Regions from separate parts of the Homo sapiens genome. Here all the other regions are linked to region 3. Evidence: promoter capture Hi-C in 16 types of primary human blood cells and fetal thymus (Javierre and others, 2016). All regions are on one chromosome and are shown on one strand. Each heading gives the region's core, a stretch centred on a gene start or on the middle of the fragment in contact. The rest is flanking DNA. Distances are from core to core; before and after follow the strand shown. Region 1 has its middle 23 kb from the start of LINC01617. Region 2 has its middle 41 kb from the start of LINC01617. Region 3 holds the start of STAU2 (staufen double-stranded RNA binding protein 2). Region 4 overlaps STAU2 (staufen double-stranded RNA binding protein 2). Region 5 overlaps STAU2 (staufen double-stranded RNA binding protein 2). Region 6 overlaps TMEM70 (transmembrane protein 70). Region 7 overlaps ELOC (elongin C).

What was found. The method cuts DNA at HindIII sites, captures the fragments that hold promoters and counts their contacts. A CHiCAGO score of 5 or more calls a contact.
Region 1: a contact is called between a fragment that was not itself captured here and the fragment with the promoter of STAU2 in region 3, in 6 of 17 cell types (neutrophils, activated CD4 T cells, non-activated CD4 T cells and 3 more). The highest score is 12.8, in neutrophils.
Region 2: a contact is called between a fragment that was not itself captured here and the fragment with the promoter of STAU2 in region 3, in 5 of 17 cell types (neutrophils, activated CD4 T cells, naive CD8 T cells and 2 more). The highest score is 9.1, in neutrophils.
Region 4: a fragment that was not itself captured here is called in contact with the fragment with the promoter of STAU2 in region 3 in 1 of 17 cell types (neutrophils); the score reaches 8.0 in neutrophils.
Region 5: a fragment that was not itself captured here is called in contact with the fragment with the promoter of STAU2 in region 3 in 1 of 17 cell types (neutrophils); the score reaches 5.5 in neutrophils.
Region 6: a contact is called between a fragment that was not itself captured here and the fragment with the promoter of STAU2 in region 3, in 1 of 17 cell types (neutrophils). The highest score is 5.7, in neutrophils.
Region 7: a fragment that was not itself captured here is called in contact with the fragment with the promoter of STAU2 in region 3 in 7 of 17 cell types (activated CD4 T cells, neutrophils, naive CD8 T cells and 4 more); the score reaches 11.8 in activated CD4 T cells.

What each region holds. Positions count from the first base shown.
Region 1 is chr8:73,900,017-73,903,291 of GRCh38, reverse strand. No RefSeq gene overlaps it. Among named protein-coding and RNA genes, the nearest start is that of LINC01617, 23 kb to the right of the region's middle. The HindIII fragment of the contact is 6,386 bases long and covers 1-3,275 here.
Region 2 is chr8:73,918,705-73,921,709 of GRCh38, reverse strand. No RefSeq gene overlaps it. Among named protein-coding and RNA genes, the nearest start is that of LINC01617, 41 kb to the right of the region's middle. The HindIII fragment of the contact is 9,703 bases long and covers 1-3,005 here.
Region 3 is chr8:73,745,264-73,748,156 of GRCh38, reverse strand. STAU2 (staufen double-stranded RNA binding protein 2) reads left to right here and starts at 1,317. Exons shown (of 15, transcript NM_001164380.2): 1 at 1,317-1,374. RefSeq lists silencers at 815-1,104, 1,185-1,274, 1,565-1,744, 1,855-1,914. The HindIII fragment of the contact is 14,890 bases long and covers 1-2,893 here.
Region 4 is chr8:73,578,718-73,581,658 of GRCh38, reverse strand. All of the region lies in intron 12 of STAU2 (staufen double-stranded RNA binding protein 2), which reads left to right. Among named protein-coding and RNA genes, the nearest start is that of STAU2-AS1, 160 kb to the right of the region's middle. The HindIII fragment of the contact is 3,568 bases long and covers 1-2,941 here.
Region 5 is chr8:73,509,950-73,513,112 of GRCh38, reverse strand. All of the region lies in intron 13 of STAU2 (staufen double-stranded RNA binding protein 2), which reads left to right. Among named protein-coding and RNA genes, the nearest start is that of STAU2-AS1, 91 kb to the right of the region's middle. The HindIII fragment of the contact is 4,279 bases long and covers 1-3,163 here.
Region 6 is chr8:73,982,449-73,985,472 of GRCh38, reverse strand. It overlaps TMEM70 (transmembrane protein 70), which reads right to left. Exons shown (of 3, transcript NM_017866.6): 3 at 2,690-3,024. It also overlaps the pseudogene RPS20P21 and the pseudogene DSTNP3. Among named protein-coding and RNA genes, the nearest start is that of LY96, 7.4 kb to the left of the region's middle. RefSeq lists a silencer at 233-433 and an enhancer at 1-513. The HindIII fragment of the contact is 1,373 bases long and covers 720-2,092 here.
Region 7 is chr8:73,945,674-73,948,476 of GRCh38, reverse strand. ELOC (elongin C) reads left to right here. Exons shown (of 4, transcript NM_005648.4): 4 at 1,657-2,803. The coding sequence ends at 1,847. Among named protein-coding and RNA genes, the nearest start is that of ELOC, 25 kb to the left of the region's middle. The HindIII fragment of the contact is 7,172 bases long and covers 1-2,803 here.

The sequences.
Region 1 (3,275 bases), core at 639-3,138, 150 kb before region 3:
CAGCTACTTGGGAAGCTGAGGCAGAAGAATCACTTAAGCCCAGGAGGCAGAGGTTTCAGTGAGCTGAGATTGCGCCACTGCTCCAGCCTGGGAGACAAAGCAACACTCTGTCTCAAAAAAAAAAAAAAAAAAAAGAGAGAAAATACTAAAAATCAGAACTTTTCTGTTCCCGAAGCCCCATAATTCAAAACTAGATGAATTTTAAGAATAAGTCTTATGACTGATATATGGACCACATAAAAAGTTCACCACACTGCTCAATGCCATCATCAGAGATATTCATACTGCAAACCAGGATATTTTCATGCTATAGACCGCTTTTCTCAAGAGGTCAGAACAAGACTCCATATCATGAGACTCTTTTCTTTTTTCTTGTTCTTTTCTTTTTTTTTTTTTTTTTTTTTTTTTTTTGAGACAGGGTCTCATTCTGTCGCCCAGGCTGGAATGCTGTGATGTGGCGTGATCTTGGCTCACTGCAACCTCTGATTGTTGGGCTCAGGTGATCCTCCCACCTCAGCCTCCAAGTAGCTGAGACTACAGGTGTGCACCACCGGGCCCTGCTAATTTTTCTATTTTTAAAAAAGATGGGGTTTCTTTATGTTGCCCAGGCTGGTCTCAAACTCCTGGGCTCAAGCGATCCACCCACCTTAACCTCACAAAATGCTGGGATCACAGGTGTGAGCCAGTGTGCCCGGCCCATGAGACTCTTAATGCTTACCTTTCCACTTGACAGGATAACAGTCGTTTGATTCATTCAATTGGTTGCTTTTAAGCCTAGTTCATAGCTCAAAACCATTATGCTAACTGGGATTGTCATAACACTATTAGTTTTACTTTATATTTTACCTTTTAAAATTTGTATCTGTTACCTGTTAAACTTTTGCAGAAGTACAACTCCTAACAGAATAATTCTGGTCCTGAACTTTGAGGTTATAGCAAAAACTACAGAACAGACAAAATTGGACTTAACAATAAACTCCAGGTACACTTAGCCTGACAGCCACTCTTTTCAAACCTCCGTTGTTGCTCAAATGTGCCTTCAAAGGTTTTGACACTGACTCCTAGTCACCAATCACTTCTTCAACATGGGACCAGACCAGCAACCTGGGGCAGGTCCACCCTGGCACCAAGGGACAATCAAAACCTACCTACAGGATGATTGATCAGTGATGCTTTTGGAGAAAGATCTTTCTCAAAGAGGGGAATGTAAAAGTTCTCAGAATTAAAATAGAGTCACTTATGTTAAAAACAAAACAAGGCCCTGACAAATAGAGCCAGGGAAGGCCATGAAGGGAGGGTTCTCATGTACATATGCCTAACTACGGCAGGGTGCGGTGGCTCACTCCTGTAATCCCAGCACTTTGGGAGGCCAAGGCAGGCTGATCACGAGGTCAGGAGATCGAGACCATCCTGGCTAGCACAGTGAAACCCCATCTCTACTAAAAATACAAAAAAATTAGCCAGGCATAGTGTCAGGCACCTGTAGTCCCAGCTACTCGGGAGGCTGAGGCAGCAGAATGGTGTGAACCCAGGAGGCGGAGCTTGCAGTGAGCTGAGATCACAGCCACTGCACTCCAGCCTGGGCAACAGAGCAAGACTCTGTCTAAAAAAAATAAAAATAAAAATAAAAAAATAAAATAAAAAAATGCCTAACTACAAGAATTACCACAAAAGACTGCCAAACCCATAACCCTACACAAAGGCCATCACAACTTTACACAAAAATATACTTCTGTGAGGCTATCTGCCCAGCAACTGCCTATCCATTTGCAGGCATCACCCTGGTTATTGATCAGACTGGCATCGCCCTTGTTATTGATTCTTGTAGCCAAGGATAATCATCTCAAAACTATTAAGTAATCATCTTCTTCATTTTTCCTTTACCCCTTTTCCCACTTAGGAAAAAAAGGTGCAGCTTGCTGCCAGCACTCATTTAATTTTACATAAACAAGCTCATTGAGGCTGAAGCAAATCTGACTGATTTTCAATGTGAAAATAAAACATAAAAAGTATTCTTGGAGTTATTTCTAAACAGAACTAACATCAGAATTGTCTGAATCACCAGAATCGTCTATTTAGGAAAAATCAGATTCATCAAATAACTCTTCGGCCAACAACTGTTTGAGAACAACTAACATCACATATAGGAATGCTACATTTTCTAGGATTTGATTTTCAACCATCGAGAATTACTGTGTGTAAATCGAACTACCACTGTTAAAAACAGAATGCTACAAATAGAATGATGTCTTTTGTTTCCAAAATCAACACACTGGAGTGATGCAAACGTAATAATATTAATAAAAGCCAGATATTTTGTGGCAAAGTTATCTTGGGGTATGCTGCAGCCGCAAGCACTGCTGGCAAGTATTCTTGGGCCAAATGGGAAAAGAGTTAAAAAACCTTTGTCTTCCTTTACCTCCCTGAATACACACATAGTTTACTCTGGTACATGTATTCCCATTGCAATGCCCTATTCCAAAATAAACATTTTCTTTTCTTTTTTTTTTTTTTTTTTTTTTTTGAGACAAAGTTTTGCTCTTGTTGCCCAGGCTGGAGTACAATAGCACAATCTTGACTCACCGCAACCCCCACCTCCTGGGTTCAAGCAATTGTCCTGCCTTGGCCTCCCAAGTAGCTGGGATTACAGGCATGCACCACCACACCCAGCTAATTTTTGTATTTTTAGTAAAGATGGGGTTTCCTCATGTTGGTCAGGCTGGTCTCGAACTCCCGACCTCAGGTGATCTGCCCGCCTTGGCCTCCCAAAGGGCTGGGATTACAGGCATGAGCCACTGTGCCCGGCCACATTTTCTTTTAAAGAACTTCTCTCTGTTTATTATTTAGGTTGATAGCATTTACCATGAATGGAATTTGCAGGACTGAAAGTTGTTCTGTGTGAGTCAGTGAGTGTTGAGTGAATGTGAAGGCCTAGGGCATTGCTATACATATATTTTTTTTAATTTTTGACACAGAGTCTCACTGTTGTCCAGGCTGGACTGCAGTGGCGTGATCTCGGCTCACTACAACCTCCACCTCCTGGTTTCAAGTGATTCTCCTGCCTCAGCCTCCCAAGTAGCTGGGATTACAGTCACATGCCACCATGCCTGGCTAATTTTTGTATTTTTAGTAGAGACGGGGTTTCGCCATGTTGGCCAGGCTGGTCTCGAACTCCTGACCTCAAGTGATCCGCTCGCCTCAGCCTCCCAAAGTGCTGGGATTACAGGCATGAGCCACGCACCTGGCCTGGCTACTATACATTTTTATTTTATTTA
Region 2 (3,005 bases), core at 393-2,892, 170 kb before region 3:
TCAAGTGATTCTCCCACCTCAGCTTCCCACGTAGCTGGAATTACAGGCATGTGCCACCATGCCTGGCTAATTTTTGTATTTTTAGTAGAGATGGGGTTTCACCATGTTGCCCAGGCTGGTATTATACTCCTGACCTCAAGAGACCTGCCTGCCTTGGCCTCCCAAAGTGCTGGGATTACAGACGTGAGCCACTGTGCCTGGCCACATTTTTTTTTTTTTTTGGAGATGTAGTCTCACTCTGTAACTCAGGCTGGAGTGCAGTGGCATGATCATGGCTCACTGCAGCCTTACCTCCCAGGCTCAAGCAATCCTCTCACCTCAGCTCCCAAGTAGCCAGGACTACAGGTATGTGCTACCACACCCAGCTAATTTCTGGTTTTTGGTTTTTGTTTGGTTTGGTGGAGTGGCATCTCCCCCATGTTGCCCAGGCTGGTCTTGAACTCCAGGGCTCAAGCAATCCATTCACCTTGTCTTCCCAAAGTGTTGGAATTACAGACATGAGCCACCATGCCTGGCTTAAAAGTCTTAAAGTGCTTTGAAATTAATGGCTTTATAAATTACAACAACTCCATGACAACCAACAACCAGGAGACTGTTTGAAAATGTAAAAGTAGGTTTGCCTGACTAACAATTGCTTAGGGTAATAGAACAGTTAATTGAAGGATTGATATCCTAAAAAAAAAAAAAAGAACTAGATAATAAATATTTATAAAAGTTAGAATCTTAGATTAAACAGATTGAAATCTTGAGTTCAGAGCAATAATAATAAATCTCTGTCCAGCATAAACATTGTTTTGTCTGCCACACAGAGGCTAAAACAAGCAAAAGCCAATGGAAAAAAACTGCTAAAATGTTTCCCTGCCTGCATTGACTAGTCAAGCAAGCCAGACCAGTAAACAAAAGAAAGATTTGTTACGAATTCAAGGCCACTTGGAGATTTTGTATTTCTTACACAATTCAGCCAGTTTCAACTAAAATGTAAACATTTAAATATTTAACCCTAAACTCATTTGAAACTGTTAAAAGAGTAAAAAGTGTTTGTTTTTAATTGAAACTTCTATGGGAACTGTTTTGCCCAAAATTTTGGTTCACAGCCTTCATTAGGTTACCTTTCAGGTCAAATAAAAACTGAGCCATGTGAACAGGTCCCATTTTGTCAAAAAGTAATTTGGATCCAACTGTCTTTTTTGAACTCATGTTTGTTTTACTATCTTATGACTAAAATTCTAAAACGAAAGCTATCAGAGCCTTGTGTGTGTATATGTGTTTAGGTATGTTTATGTACATGCATATGTATTATGTTATATGTTGTGTTTACATGGTAAAATATGGCATTATCAAAGTTCCCTTAAGAAATTCTATTCAGATTGGCTTAGATAAATGAGCATTCAAGTAACATATATAATAATTAACTCAATGCCTTTTAATTAATGTGACAAGTAAATTTTGACAAAGAAGCTGATTTTAAATTTGGTAGTAGAATAAAAATAAAAATATCTTCGGAATTTTCAGTATACATTTTTGCCTGGATTTACTGGTCAGACAGTTTTATATTTGTTCCCACTAGATGTTTTAACTGTAAGGGCTTGTCACAAAAGTTATCAAACTATAAATTAAACCTAAAAACAGAATAGTCTTGTGCAATATTGTTGGTATAATGAAAATAACTGTATCAGGCTGGGCGTGGTGGCTCACACCTATAATCCTAGCACTTTGGGAGGCCGAGGCGGGCGGATCACCTGAGGTTGGGAGTTCGAGACCAGCCTGACCAACATGGAGGCAACCCATCTCTACTAAAAATACAAAATTAGCTGGGCATGATGGTGCATTCCGGTAATCCCAGCTACTCGGGAGGCTGAGGCAGGAGAATCACTTGAACCCGGGAGGAGGAGGTTGCAGTGAGCCGAGATCATGCCATTGCACGCCAGTGTAGGCAATAAGGGCAAAACTCCGCCTCAAAAAAAGAAAAGAAAAGAACTGTAACTTCTGAGTTGTAGGCAAAATACCTATATATTTAAATTTAAGGTTCTTAGGTGAACACCTGATGGTCACACTCTATAAAAATGGTTAACAGGGAAACAACTTGAAAAGATGACTAGTTTTATCTAATATATCAGTTTTCCTAACTAATCTAGGTATAATTGTTATAACAATTACAAATAGATTAATTAGGTAAATGTATATGAGATAAATGTTAATAAATTAAGTTTCCATGTAACTTGAAATCTTAATGTTATGTTAAATTAAGTGATAGGTACTCATAAATATCCAGATCATTTCCAAGTTTTGGGGCTCAAGCAATCCTCCTACTTAGCCTCCTGAGTAGCTGGGACTAACGCATGTGCCACCATGCCTGGCTAATTTTTTAAATTTTTTGTAAAGATGGGGTCTCATTTTGTTATCCAGGCTGGTCTTAAACTCCTGGCTTTAAGCAATCCTCCCACCTTGTCCTCCCACAGTGCTGGGATTATAGGAATGAGCCATTATGCCCAGCTGGGAAACATGTTTCTAAAATTATGAAATGGTAGCTTACGCCTGTAATCCCAGTGCTTTGGGAGGCTGAGGTGGGCAGATCACCTGGGTCAGGAGTTCGAGATTAGCCTGGCCAACATAGTGACACCCCATCTCTACTAAAAATACAAAAAAAAAAAAAAATTAGCTAGGCATGGTGGCGCATGCTTGTAATCCCAGCTATTTGGGAGGCTGAGACAGGAGAATCGCTTGAACCTGGGAGGCAGAGGCTGCAGTGAGCTGAGATCACACCACTGAACTTCAGCCTGGGTGGCAAGAGCAAAACTCTGTCTCAAATAAATAAATACATAAATAAAAATAAAAATTATGAAATGGTTCTCATCTATGAAATACTGATATGTGACAGTTCAAAATCTCTTGCTAGAAAAAAAAAACAGATAGCTGGCATGGTGGCAGGCACCTGTTATCTCAGCTACTTGGGAGGCTGAGGCAGGACAATTGCTTGAACCCAGGAGGCGGAGGTTGCAGTGAGC
Region 3 (2,893 bases), core at 68-2,567:
TTAAATACGAACTATCTATCACATGTAGTCTCCTCTTGATGCACAGGATAAGTAACATGCCCGTGGTCTCCTCACCAGTTAGCAAGCGGATATCCAGCCTTGGTTATCTGACTCTGGCGCCCTTGCGGTTAACCAGGACACACACTACCTTCCCAGGTGCAGACATGAGATTGGTTTTAGATGATGACTGAAATCACCGGCCTGGGAGACATTTCTCAGTCAGAGAAGTGACACTGGGAAGAAACCCTAGAAATAACGTTGCAAACGAGTAAGTTTGTGAAAACACACTAATAGTTCTATTTCGAAATTTCTTTGTCAGATTATTTTTGGTGCCGGTTACTAAACGAAGTGTTCAGTTTCATTGAGCTTAACTGGGTTGAAGTTATCTAGACAAAAGTAATCCACATCAAAACCAGGACGAATTAAGACGTAATTTCTGTTTTCTGGCACTCTTGCCTCATAAATCTAGGATTCAGGGCATTGTTTTCAATGGTTCTCATTTTTGGCTCCAAGGATTCTTTTTCATGTGACTAATATTTTCGGTAGAAGAGGAGGTCTGGCCACGCCGCGGGTCTTGGCGAGCAGGTGATCACGGATCCCTGGTGTTTGCTGGGCGAGACGGTGAAGCAACCTCCTCCCCGCCCCCTCCCCCGTCTAGAAAGGTGCAAGATCCGCTAAACCGTGCGTTGCACAGCGGCGGCCGGAGCAGACGCGGGATGGTCGCGCGTCCCCTGCACAGCACAGAGGGGCAGCCGGAGAGCCTGGGAAAGGTACGAGCGGGGAATCAGAGCACAGGGTGCGGACCAGAAAGAGCAGACGGTCAGTCGGGCGGGGAAGGAAGTTGCCGAGTTGCAGGTGTGGAAGGGGCTGCCCCAGGCCCACCCTTGGCAGACGAGGGGGCGGGGAGTCGCGCCGGGGACGAGGAGACTGCGGACCGGGCGCGCTCCTTGCGCAGTCGCTCGCCCGCGTGCCCAAGCCCCCCGGGAATGGCCCTCGCCCAGGGGCCCAGCTCGCCGCCGCTAGCCCCGCAGAGCCTGCAGCTGCTGGGGCCCGGCAGCCGCCAGGGGGCGGGAGCTGCGTCGCGAACAATGGCCGCGCTTGGTCGCGGGCCGGCGGGAGGCGGAGTGGAGGTAGAGCCGGTGCCGGGCGCGCGCGCCGGCCGGGCGTGCTGGGGCGCGGGAGCGGCTGCGCAGGCGGGGGCGCGCGGCGCGAGCGCGGGAGGGCGCGGCGGGAGCGCCGGGGAGGCGGGCGGAGGCGGGCGGAGGCGGGGGGCGGGGAGCCCGAGGGGTGGAAGCCGGCGGCGGCCGAGCGGGGTCAGTTCTCTGTAGTGTTTGCCAATGTTGGAGCCGTCTGCAAAGTGTCCCCGGCAAGAAGGTAAATACCCTCATCGGGGGCGTCCGGGAGACCCCGACTTCCGCGCCGCCGGCGAAGAAGGCAGAGGGCGCTGGGGAGCCCTGCAGTTCCGCAGCACGGGGAACCCGGAGAAAAGCAGCCCCCTTCGCGGCCTCCCCTCCCCCGCGCCTTCCCTCCCACATCGGGCTCTCGGGGCAGCAGCGGGGAGGGGAGACCGGCGGGGGAGGGAGGACAGGGAGGCGAAGGAATTGGGGTGGGGGGTGCGTGTGTGGTGGAGGGGGTGGGACGACACAGGTGTCCTGAGGGGAGGAGCCGGGAGGAAGGCGAGGAGGCCGGGCCAAGTGGGGGTGCGGAGGTCGGGGAGACAGGAACGCGGCTGCGGGCGCGGGAGGCTGGGGTTCTAGGGGGCCGGGGTGGTAGCGGCCGGAAGAGAGGACGGCGAGTGCAGCCACGGTGTGGCTGCGAGGGAGAGGGAGCGCCTAGAGTAGGGCAGGGGAGGGCGGCCCGGGGAGGGTCTGCGGGAAATGGGCCTGGGGGCGCTGGAGGCGGAGCGGCGGGGCCGGGGCGCGCCGGAGGGTGGCGGCGGCAGCTATTTCTGTAGAATGGGCTAGTGGTAAAGACGTAACTTGCCGAAATGGGGAGGGTAGGTGGGGCCGAGGGGACAAAATATATCCTATGACAGGCAAGTTCTGCTGTGGCTGTTACGAACTCCTACCGTGATGGCTCGGCTTAAAGGGGTAGTTGGCGGTAGTGACCTTGCCGGGGTGAAGGGAGTTGGGCGAGGAGACAAAGCTCAGTTACGGAATCCGCTGTGTGAGAGCAGGAACTCTAGTCTCTTCGGGGTCGAGCCGGGGGCTGTGGCTTGGGGGCTGGGGGTGCTCCGCAGAGGCCATTGAGAAGCACGCCACTCTGGGATTCTTAGGGAGGCGGTGGGGGTAATGGCCGTGGGATTCTGGAAGTCTTTGGAAATGTGTGTAGAATTTTGCATTTGTGAATAATTTTCTTTGGTAAGGGTCCATATTTGCTGTGATGTCCCCTTACCCCCATCCCCACTCCAAAGGGTTAAGAACTGCTTGAGCAGATAGAGAGGGACCATTCAATTAGGGTAGACCTGGGAATTTACCAAAGGATTTTAAAGTGGGTGGATCCTGCAGAAAGAAAGGCTAGAGATGATCCTTTAAAGATATTTTACTGTTAATTGAAAACGTTTTTTATTTAATGTTTGCTTTCACAATTTTGGTGAACTTTTGCTGAGCATTACTTGGCTTCTGATGCATCCTGTGTTTCAGACCAGCATCGTGAATACTTGAAATCAAAATTGTGATGGACAGGCAGGGTGATAGTAACCTTGGAGGAGAAAAGATTTCAACATTTCTCCAGGATATTTCTTCCCCGTCCTTGCTTTCTTTAGATGATTCAAGTACACTGTTGTGAACTCAGCTGCGGTGGAAAAATCTTATTTAATAAAACTACCAAAACCAAGACTTACTCTCCATCTCTGTTTTGTAGTATGGCCAGATTTTCATTGTTCAGTTTGTAT
Region 4 (2,941 bases), core at 268-2,767, 170 kb after region 3:
ATAGCCCAAGGAAAAAATGGAATCAGTTCAGGATTCCTAGAGTTTGTGTTCAGTTCCTTTGATGTTTGAATATATTGGTTTATAATGATTTGGTGAGGGAATGTAATAAACATGAAATTGATTGCAGTTTTATGTAAAGTACTTAGCACAGTACCTGTTTCCTAGTAAGCACGTAATGAATGTTGATTTCCTTCCATGCCTCCTCCCTCTTGTCTTTTATAAAAATGATACTATTCTATGTAGGCGTGCCAGAAATTCCATTCTTATACTTTTGTCTGTCAGATGGTTTGTGCATACATATGGTGACCAAGAATATATAGCTTATTATTGAATAGTTACATTCAGGCACTAAACTTTTTTTTCAAAGAATATAAACTTTATGTATTTTAATATAAAGATCAAATAGTTATTAACTTGACAATTTTAACGTGAAATCACTTTATAGATAACCTGCAGGCTCCATCATTAAACAATGATGTTTTGGCCCCTAGCTTTATGTGTTTGTTTTTTTTTAACTTGCTAAGGGATACATCTCATGGGATGACAAGTGGGGGATACTTCTGTCCTGTGCAGACATGGGAAGGAATATCACAAAGAGGCCAGTGAGTTTAAGTGATCAGAAATGTGTAAGAATGCATAACGGGTTTGCTTGAGACATAAAGTTAGAAGTGAGAAAACTATTTGAAGCCAGCTTAAATCTTAACCAGACGGTTAATGCTTTAGGAATTCATGGTCTACAATGGTTCAGATTAAGGCTTTGAAATAAGAATGTTCTGTTATCTCTTCCCAGCTGTAAGGAGGTGAGAAAGCTGCTCTAAGAGTTCTTTGAATGAACACTGGATTGTCCCTTCCTTGGATTACGATAGAGGATAAGGGCAGCCCAGCTCTGAAAAGTAGCTGTTTCATTCCCCAAGGGTTAGTTCTCACAAGTGAAACCTGAGTCCCCTTGAGCCAGCTCATTGGCACTTAAATACAACATTAGGAAGAAGTTGGACTGTGCTTAGGAATTGATCATTCAGATGATGGACCAATTAGCTGAAAATTAATTTAAATTCATATATTATGGTAATATTTAGGTTAACTTCTTAATCAGTTTCTTAAGTTTGAAATTCTATTCTAAATGGTTTCTGTCCTGTGAAGAATACCAGAGTTAGCATTTTGCAGGCAAAGGTTAGAGCAGGGATCTTGTGGGATGGCACATGTGGGGGAAGACAGGAATTTGAGATTGCCAGTGCTGGCTGCCTCACTGACATACTGTCTGACCTTGAACAACTCAATTTACATCTTATTATTCAATTTTCTCTGTTAAGAGTTATGCATACTAATTTATAATGTTGAGAATCTTTAATTATGTAACATTTATAAAATGATTACCCATCCTTGAATAACATCTGAAAAGGTAACATATTACTTTGTGAAAAACACTGTCATCATGAAATGGCTAACTCACTATGGTTTTTTGTTTGTTATGTTTTGTTAAACTCTACATTGCTTCAAAATTGTAGTTTTAAAGATCAAATTTTTAGCCACCCATTATTTGGATAAATAATACGAAATTAGCTTGGAACCATAATGTACAAAAATGAAAAGGGAATGTAGAATTGGAAAGGGGAAAGAGGGGAATTTTAATCTGGCATAGCACCTAACTATAAGTAGACAAAAAACATTAATGTACATGTGCATTTAATTTTTTAAGTGGAAGATATTTTTTAAAAGATTACAGTCATAGGAAACTGCTAACAATTACAACTAGAAAATAGTTTAAATGGTTTTGCAAGTGATTGTGATTACATAGCCTGGTTCCTCAATTTATTTTCCTTGCTTGATTGCCTGCAGATTTAAAATATGGACCTAGTTTTTGGGTGCTGCTCAGGCTTTCTTCATTGTACTGAAATGCAGCAGAAGGTAGACTATTCTAAGTGTGTTTTTATCCTTTGAATCACTGTAATAGTTATGTTGAAGAATAAAAACACATAACTCTGTAATGTGAGGTTTATGTTAAGTTTAGCATAGGGCAATTTTATGCTTGGTGTACACATAAAAAACTAGATTTTTACAGATGAATGAATAACTTTTTTAAAAAAAGATCATGAATTTTAAAGATCTACTGACAGCTCACGGCTCTTGGAAAACTTTGTAAAATATTTAGATACAGTTCAGCTGATAACATCTCTTTTTGTATTCACATTCCATGTTTCTTATTAATACAGGCTTTTACTTAAAAGCAGGTTCATAGTTTCTTGAAGGTGAACTGTAGCTTAATTCAAGATTGGACTAAGCTCAAAGGTATTCACTGGTATGTGCCAAATCCACCCACTAAAAGATTATTCGGAGGCATTTTTCACATAAATATTTTTCCGTTAACCTTTTAAAAAGTTTTATTTAGCCCCTGTGAAATATGCTGGCACTTGTAGGTTCATTAGAGATGACCAAAGACAAATACTTGTGGAATGAGATAGCATTCTTATTGACCTCTTTAGGATCTTAGTTGACTTACCAATATTTTTGTCACTTTTGTTTCATATGCATGTATTATTAAACACTGAACATCCTGAAACCAGGAGGCTACACTGTCCCAGTGATATGACATTGGGTAGATTGCCTGCTGGTTTCCCAAATGCTATGTACTATATTTAGAACCTCTAGTGTTTTTTTGGTTTTTTTGGGGGGGTGGGTAGGGGTGGGAGATAGAAGGGAGGTATATAAGTGTTGGACTTTTAAGGTGACAGATTAATATATACTTTCTTTAATAGTGTTTTGAGAGAGCTCCCTGAACAAATTCCCTTTGGGGTTCCCATAGTAGAAACCACTTTGTAGTGAGACAGTTAAAACAGTTGGAGCCAATTGGATGTAAATATAAAGCTGAGTGATCCAACTTAATTATTTCTTTAGACATAAATACTGTGTTAGAAATGTAAGAATGTAGCCAGCTTTTAGTGAT
Region 5 (3,163 bases), core at 606-3,105, 240 kb after region 3:
TCAGGCTTAAAAAATTACAAGATATTTAAAGAAAGAAAAGGGTGATTAATACTTAGGGGGAAAAAGCAGTGAATGGAAGCAGAAGCTGAGTGTTTCTGAGTGGGCTCAGATGTACTATGCAGACAGATACTTCAAAGCAGCTAAAATATGTTCAAGGAATTAAAGAAAACCAGGATTAAACGAAAGTATAACAACAATGGTTCAACAAATAAAGAATCTCAAGATAAATTATTTAAAAAGTCAAATGGAAATTCTGGAGTTGAAAAGTACAATAACCGAAATGAAAAATTCACTTGAGTAACTCAATAACAGATTTGAGATGGCAGAAGAACCCACACCCATAAACTTCAAGATAGATCAGCGTGTAGCTTTGAAAGGAAGAAGCAAAATGTTCTTTATTTCCAGATGATGTGATCCTGTATGTAGAAAATCCTGAGAAATACCCACCCCCCACACACATACACACACACACCCTATTAGAACTGATAAACAAGTTCAGTTACAGACAGGATATAATTTATAGATGAATATACAAAAATTTGTTGTATTTCTATATACTGGTAAAAAAAAACCAAAAATGAAATTAAGACCATTTCATTCACAGTAGCATCAAAAAGAATAAAATACTTAGGAATCAGTTTAAACACAGAGATGCAAGATTTGCACATGGAAAACTATAAAATATTGCTAAAAGAAATTAAAGATCTAAAACAAATGAGAGGTATTCAATGTTCATGGATTAGATGAACCTTTAGTGTTAAGTTCGCACTTTCTCTTAAATTGACCTATAGATTTAATACAATCCCTGTCAAAATCCCAGCAGGCTTTTGGGGATAGCAGTTGACAAGCTGATCTTAAAATGTGTATGGAAATGCAAAGAGACCAGAATCGCTAAAACAGTTTTGAAAAGGAAGAACAAAATTGAAACATTTACACTACTGAATTTTAAGTTTTACTGTAAAACTACAGTACTCTACTTAGTGGCATTAAGGATAGACATGTAGATCAGTGGAACAGAATTGAGAGTCCAGAAATGAACTTTTATATTTATTTTTGATCAATTTTCAATAAAAATGCCAAGGAAATTTAATCAGGAAAGAATAACATTTTCAACAGAGGGTACTGGGAAAATAAAACATTCATATGAAAAAGATGAATTTGGAGCCTTACCTCATACCATATGCAAAAATTCACTCAAAATAGATAATAGACTTAAATGTAAAACCCAAAACTTTAAAACTTCTCAAAGAACCATAGGAGAAATGTTCATGATCTTGGGTTAGGCAAAGAGTTCTTAGATATGACACCAAAATCATGATCCATACAAGAAGAAATTGGTAAATTGGACTTTACCAAAACTTAAAACTTTTTTGCATTAACAACATTATTAAGAAAATGAAAATTGAGAGCCACCTCATGGTGGGGCACCAGCTGCCACCCACATGGGAGGGGCGGAAAAGTGGGGGACGTGGTTGTGGGCAAAGACAAGTGCAGGGAGCAGTGGCTTCTCTTGCTGTCCCTGTCCCACATCTGGTCATCATGAAGAGTTCTCCCATGGTGTTGTGCATCAACCTCGAGGTGCTCCTGGCCAAGGCCACACAACTCTTTGTTAAGTCTCTAACCATCTATTCCTACGGTCATGGCAGTAGAAAGAAGAAAGCACTAACAGTAATTTAGCAAATACAGCAGAGGAATCAGAAATTTTTCAGTTTCTTGAAGGTGTATTATTGCCAAAGAAGGTTTCCACTAGTAAATACCTGAAAGTTCTTAAAGAGGAAAGGAGGGAAGAAGAAGATGAGGAGGAGGGGTAGAATGACTATGATGGTGAAAGTGATGTTGATGAAGGTGAATACTAAACCAAAAGAGAAGTGCTTTAATCAGCCTGGTATGGACCCTTCTGGATTAGCTCCATTGCTTAGAAGTAAGCACAACACTGCATGTTTAGTTTCCTCACTTTTTCAGATGTCCAGTAGGTTGTTTCCCTTCGTGGATAAGATAGAGCATCTCATGCACCGACACCATAAGTAGCCAAAGAGGAAGGAACCCAGAGAGCAGCCTCGCTTTGGTGAGCCCACACTGCCTTCAGTGGTCACCAAGAACGTTGCCCACGCAGGCAGGCGCTGCCAGTTGACCTTCTGCAGCTCCCAATTGCAAGGCAGAGATGATTCTACTTAACTTTTAAATTTACAAATAGATTTGAAGAGCTTCTAAATATCAATTGTGTAAATCCATTGATAAGGCTTGGCACCAAAATCTCATCTTTAATTGTAGTTTCTATAATCCCCACATGTCGTGGGAGGGACCAGGTGGAAATAACTGAATCCTGGGGGCAGTTTCCCCCATCCTGTTCTCATGATGTGAGTGAGTTCTCAGGAGATCTAATGGATTTATTAGGGGCTTCCCCCTTCACTGGGCACTCATTCTTCTCCTTGCTGCTGCTATGTGAAGAAGGATGTGTTTGCTTCCCCTTCCGCCGTGATTGAAGTTTCCTGAGGCCTCCCCAGTCATGCTGAACTGTGAGCCAGTTAAACCTGTTTCCTTTATAAATTACCCAGTCTTGAGTGTGTCTTTATTAGCAGTGTGAGAATGGACTAATACATCCATATATGTATATTTTGAAATTAGTTCTTGTAAAAATACATAGTTTATAGTTAGTGTGTTACATCTGAATTGTACTATTTGTACAAATTTGACTATTTGTCCAAATATTATTAATTTTTTACTGTAAAGAAATATACTTTCTGGCCAGGCGCGGTGGCTCACGCCTGTAATCCCAGCACTTTGGGAGGCAGAGGTGGGCGGATCACATGAGATTGGGAGTTCGAGACCAGCCTGACCAACATGGAGAAACCCCATCTCTACTTAAAAAAATACAAAATTAGCTGGGTGTGGTGGCACATGCCTGTAATCCCAGCTATTTGGGAGGCTGAGGCAAGAGAATCGCTTGAACCCAGGAGGTGGAGGTTGCCATGAGCCGAGATCACGCCATTGCTCTCCAGCCTGGGCAACAAGAGCGAAACTCAGTCTCAAAAAAAAAGAAAAAGAAAAAGAAATATACTTTCCAATTAAAGATTTATGCATATTTTTACATCAAAATGCTGTATGGAACTAGTTGTAGAGGCCTTTATTGTTCTAATGCTTTGCTTACTACCTGAGAATTTTG
Region 6 (3,024 bases), core at 157-2,656, 240 kb before region 3:
AAAAGAATCAGAATAAAATTTTTACAAATACATTCAAGCTAAGACTGCCATTCATATCTAATGGCCATCTTGTTACTTTTGCTTCCAAAAGCCTTTCAGTACAGTGAAATCTACATTAGAGAAAAGGATTGCAATATTTTATTGTTAACAGGGTTATTACCTGATGTAACCCAGATGTCAGCTAGGATCACCTTGCCTTTTCACATGCAAATAGGTGACTTTTGTGATGCAAATAAGTGATTCACCTTTGCTAGACAGTGAGAGATTCATTACCTTCCCAGTCTTCCTGAGATTACTCTGCCTGGGGTAGGATAGCAAAGTGGCATGAGGGAGGTGCCTATGTTTCTCCTCCTAACCTTGGCCTGAGTTGGTTCTGCTGATTATTTCAGTGATGAATCATCCTGTTATCCTATGCATGCTGATCCTTTCTCTGTCCTAGATTCTCACTCCATATCATGCCCTTGAGATGTCACCTTTCCCACTTAGTGAAAGCATATTTTTCCCCTAGACTACCAAGTTGCCTTCTGAAGAATTATTCTGATATCAACCAATAAAAACAAGTTTTTCACTCCACTACACACTGATAAAATGCCTTGAAATTTCTTTTTCATTGCATCCTTGGATGTTGCACAGATCATTTTACTTTTCAGAGGTGCTAGTTCTCATGCCTACAAAAAAAAAATCAACTCTTCTGTACTGGATTCTTTTGTTTCAAAGCTTGCATCATACAAAGCACAGCGACAATCTTTTTCAGGAAGCATTCCCACAAAATGCTTGAAAGGACCAGTTATGGTTACACCAACATCTCCAACCAAGATCTCTTTGCCTTCTTCTACAATGATGCACTTTTCGTCTGCACCGAGACAAAAAATGACAGCCTTCTTTCTTTTCTTGATTTCTTCTGGTGTGGAGCATTTACGAACTTTCATGTCATAAAAAATGCGACATACTTCATCAGCTACTTGCACTCCTGAGGCCATCTTCGCCTCTGGGGTTGCAGGGATGCGGGGGAGGGAGCCGGTGGGCAGTGAGTCTGCAGGGCATCCTCTTCACGGCTGTGGGACCGAGAGCACAGTCATAAAATGATCACATGGATATAGAACATGTAAATGTTAGATATGAGTTCTAAATTTCTCTTCAAAGAGTCAATATGTATGTTCAATTCTTTGCCTTCTACTTTTAAACTTAACTTCCTCGTAAAGCAACCTTTTCTGATTACCTGCTCCACCCTGACTCATTCCAATTACCTGCTCATTCTCCACAACCATTTTTCCCGCCAAACCACTCACCCTATCAGTCTCTTTAAATTAGCCAGTCGGAATTAGTTTAGCCTGTGCGGTCTAACCCTAGCCAATAGGAGAACAACAGAGCAGCAGGGGCCACATGTGTCAGGAATAAGACCCCCTTTTCCTCCCTTGTCCAAGTGTGCGCTCACCATTGCTCCATCTGTGAGGGCGCCCCCTTCTATAGAAGTAAACTGCCTTGCTGAGAAGAAAAAAATAAAATGTTATATTTGAGTGCTATTTCTTTTGCAGCACCAAAACTTTATTTATAACATAAAGAAATATATTGCACTTAAAACAAGTTATGAAGAGATGTAATATTGGAAGAGATCTTTAAAATGTAAACAATGCTATTTTTTCTAGGGGGAACTAGGAGTGATTTTTTCCTTTTTTGTTTTTGAGATGGGGTTTTGCTCTGTCACCCTGGATGGAGTGCAGTGATGTGATCCCAGCTCACTGCAGTCTTGATCTCCCAGGTTCAAGCGAGTCTCCCACCTCAGCCCCCCAAGTAGCTGGGATTACAGGCAAGAGCCACCACACCCAGCCTCTTTCTTCCTTCTACTTTCTAATGTATCCATAATAAACATTTGATCATAGAATAACTTTCTATAGAAAGATATCTCTTATCTTAGGGGTGTCCAATCTTTTGGCTTCCCTGGGCCACGTTGGAAGAATTGTCTTGGGCCACACATAAAATATACTAATGATAGTGATGAGCTTAAAAAAAAAATCTCAAAAATAAAATTTAAGTTTACGAATTTGTGTTGGGCCACATTCAAAGCCGTCCTGGGCTGCAGGCTGGACAAGCTTCCCTTATCTAGTAGGTTGCTATGAAAAAAATAGAAACACATCTCTCATTCATTGCTAGGATACATCTAGGGGACAAAGGACAGAGAAGCAAGCAGGCAAAAACCCACCTTGAGCAGAAGATGGCACAGAGGAATGGCGGTGGGAATTCTCAGTCTGGTGAGCTGGACAATCCAAGCAGAGGGCAGGCTCTACGTCTCAGAAAGACAGCTTTTCTGTCTTATCTCCTATGAATAAGTTTCGAGCAGCCTGGGAGTTGAATGATCTCTTTGAACAGATGTTCCTGCTGCTTCCCCATCAACCTCCCTCATACACATGTACGCCATAAAGTTTAAATTTACTATCATGGTGGCCATAGACAATGTTAGGTAGCTCCATAAAGACAGACGGGGTGTTTCATTCTTAACTGTGATCTTAGTAACTAGCACAGTACTGGGCACTTAGTAAATATCTACTGATCTAAATAGTGTGGTTTGAGGCCTCTTGTTCCTGGCTAAAAATCCTTGGCAAGAGTCAATCTCCACTTTACAATAGAGGTAAAAATCTTACAATGGATATTCTTGACAAAGCTAGCATAGAGACAGCAATTTTACACAAGGTATTTTTCACCTGTTTAATAACAGTGGTTTTCCTACACCCATAGGGTGCCACCAAGGGAGGAGTGCACAGTTGCAGAAACAAATTAAGATACTGAAGACAACACTACTTACCATTTCCCGTATAGCTAACCACCAGTTCAACTGTACATGTATGTTCTTATGGGCAATCATGCCAGGGGTTAGGCAAAAACCTGTGTTCTGAACCAAAGAAGACTTAAAACTGCTCCCATAATTTGTGAATTTCTTGAAATTTTGCGGTTTTTTGAAAATTTTTTAACAACTGGTAATCAATTTATGAAAACAGTTGACTTAAGCATTTGCAATGGTGACTTCCA
Region 7 (2,803 bases), core at 159-2,658, 200 kb before region 3:
ATATTCACTAATTCTCAGAAAAGCCAAATCAGAAAACCTGTTATTTGCCCTGACTTTATTTTTACATGGCAATTCAGTACAACACAGGGATCCTAATGATCCATAAAGACTTGATTGCCTGGATTGATCTTTTTTAAAAATGATTTTACTTTTTCATCCTGCTCGCCAATCATACCACCAAGATTGTTAGGAAAAGCTACTTAAGTTTCCAACCCACAGGGAGAGAATTAGAATTTTAAAATTCAGTCTTGATGAATCTCAAGTACTATCTTTTTTTTTTTTTTGAGACGGAGTTTCGTTCTTGTCGCCCAGGCTGGAGTGCAATGGCACAATCTTGGCTCACTGCAACCTCTGCCTCCTGGGTTCAAGAAATTCTCCTGCCTCAGCCTCCCGAGTACCTGGGATTACTGGCACTCACCACCACGGCCAGCTAATTTTGTATTTTTAGTACAGATGGGGTTTCACTATGTTAGTCAGGCTGCTCTCGAACTCTTGACCTCAAATGATCGCCCACCTCAGCCTCCCAAAGTGCTGGGATTACAGGCATGAGCCACCCCGCCCGGCCCTCAAGTACTATTTTAGTAAAGGTTTTTTTTAATGTTGGCCAGGTGCAAGTGGCCAAGCCTGTAATCTTAGCACTTTGGGATTCTGAGGCAGGGGGATCACTTGAGTCCAGTAGTTCAAGACCAGCCTGGGCAACATGGCAAAACTCTGTCTCTACAAAAAATACAAGAATTATCCAGACATGGTGGCGCTCACCTGTGGTCCCAGCTACTCGAGGAGGCTGAGGTGGGAGGATCACTTGAGCCCAGGAGGCAGGGGTTACAGTGAGCCACAACCATGCCACTGCACTCCAGCCTGGGCAACAGATCAAGACTCTATGTCAAAAAAAAGAAAAAAACTTAGGTTAATACTAAAAAAATCAGAATTCCATAATTCATTTGGTGCTAATTGAGGTTATTTTAATGATGATTAGTTTGCTAGGGCTGCCATAACAAAGTACCACCCCTAGATGGCTTGAACAACAGAACTTTATTTTCTCACAATTCTGGAGTGTAGAGGTTGAAAGTAGAGTTGGTCTCTTCTGAGGCTCTCTTTTTGTCTTGTACATGGCCATCTTCTTCCTGTCTTCACACAGTTTTCCCTCTATGCCCATCTCTGTCCGGATCTCTTACGAGAATACCAATCATGGCCGGGCGCGGTGGCTCATGCCTGTAATCCCAGCACTTTGGGAGGCTGAGGTGGGTGGATCATGAGGTCAGGAGTTTGAGACCAGCCTGACCAACATGGTGAAACCCCGTCTCTACTAAAAATACAAAAATTAGCCGGTCGTGGTGCTGCACACCTGTAATCCCAGCTACTCAGGAGGCTGAGGCAGGAAAATCGCTTGAACCTGGGAGGTGGAGGTTGCAGTGAGCTGAGATCCCGCCATTGCACTTCAGCCTGGGTGACAGAGCGCGACTCTGTCTCAAACAAACAAACAAAAAGACACCAATCATATTGGATTGCCACCCTAATGACCTCTTTTAATTACCTCTTTAAAGAACTTATCTCTAAATACAGCCACATTCTGTGGTACAAGGGGTTAAGACTTCAACATATGAATTTGGAGGACACAATTCAGCCAATAACATACATAATTCTTTTGTTTTACAGGTCAGTTTGCTGAGAACGAAACCAATGAGGTCAATTTTAGAGAGATACCTTCACATGTGCTATCGAAAGTATGCATGTATTTTACGTACAAGGTTCGCTACACTAACAGCTCCACCGAGATTCCTGAATTCCCAATTGCACCTGAAATTGCACTGGAACTGCTGATGGCTGCGAACTTCTTAGATTGTTAAATAAAATAAATTATAATAAACTGTTAACTCTTTTCAGTATTTAATACCTGTAGTTCAGTTAGTAACTTTTTCATATATAGCATGTTGCCTGTATGCAGTTGAACTATATAAAGTTCATTGCAAAGCAGATTATCTTGTTTTTTTGCATAGCAATCAAAGTTGAAATTTGTTTGCTACATCAACAAATTAAGGACATTTTCACAAACTGAGAAATAAACAAATATGCCAATTCGTAGGTGGTTTTGCCTTATCCTTTGAATGTGACTTAAAATCAGCAATGATGATATAGTAAATACTGAAATTTAGGTGTAAATCAATACGTTCTACAGGGAAATAATGAGGCTAAGTATTTTTATGTTTTTAGTGGTTTTTTAGAAACCTAATCTTATAGCCGCCATTAGCATTACTAGAGTTATGCAAATAATTGCATTATAAACATGTTTATAACTTAGCCAAAACATTGATTTTTATAACTCTCCAAGTATGAGTTGAAATTTCTTATGTCTTTTGATAAACTGCAGTATTCTTTAAGTGTACTTTGTCCTTTTGTTTATTGCTACAATTTAAGAACTTTATTTAAAAACAATTTTGGAAGGTTACTAGGTACAGCTTTTGCAGAAGAAACTGAACTGTAGCCAGATGGTCAGCAAGTAAACTACATGACTTAGAGTTCTTGTGCATTATACATTTTGGGTAATTCAAAGTACTGTATTTGCATTGACTATAAAGCGTCGTTTGCAATATTTATTCTTCCTTCATAGTCCCTTGTTGTGATTATACTTCCAGTTGTTTAAATGTATTTTAAAAGACTCACTATTAACTTTATTCAGATCTTAAAAGCTACACCTTTTTGAACTATTCCAGTCTTTCTCCATCCAATTAGAATGTTATGGAATAACATGTGAAGAGATACAGTGAAAATCATATTATAATGCATTGAAGATATCCTACATGAA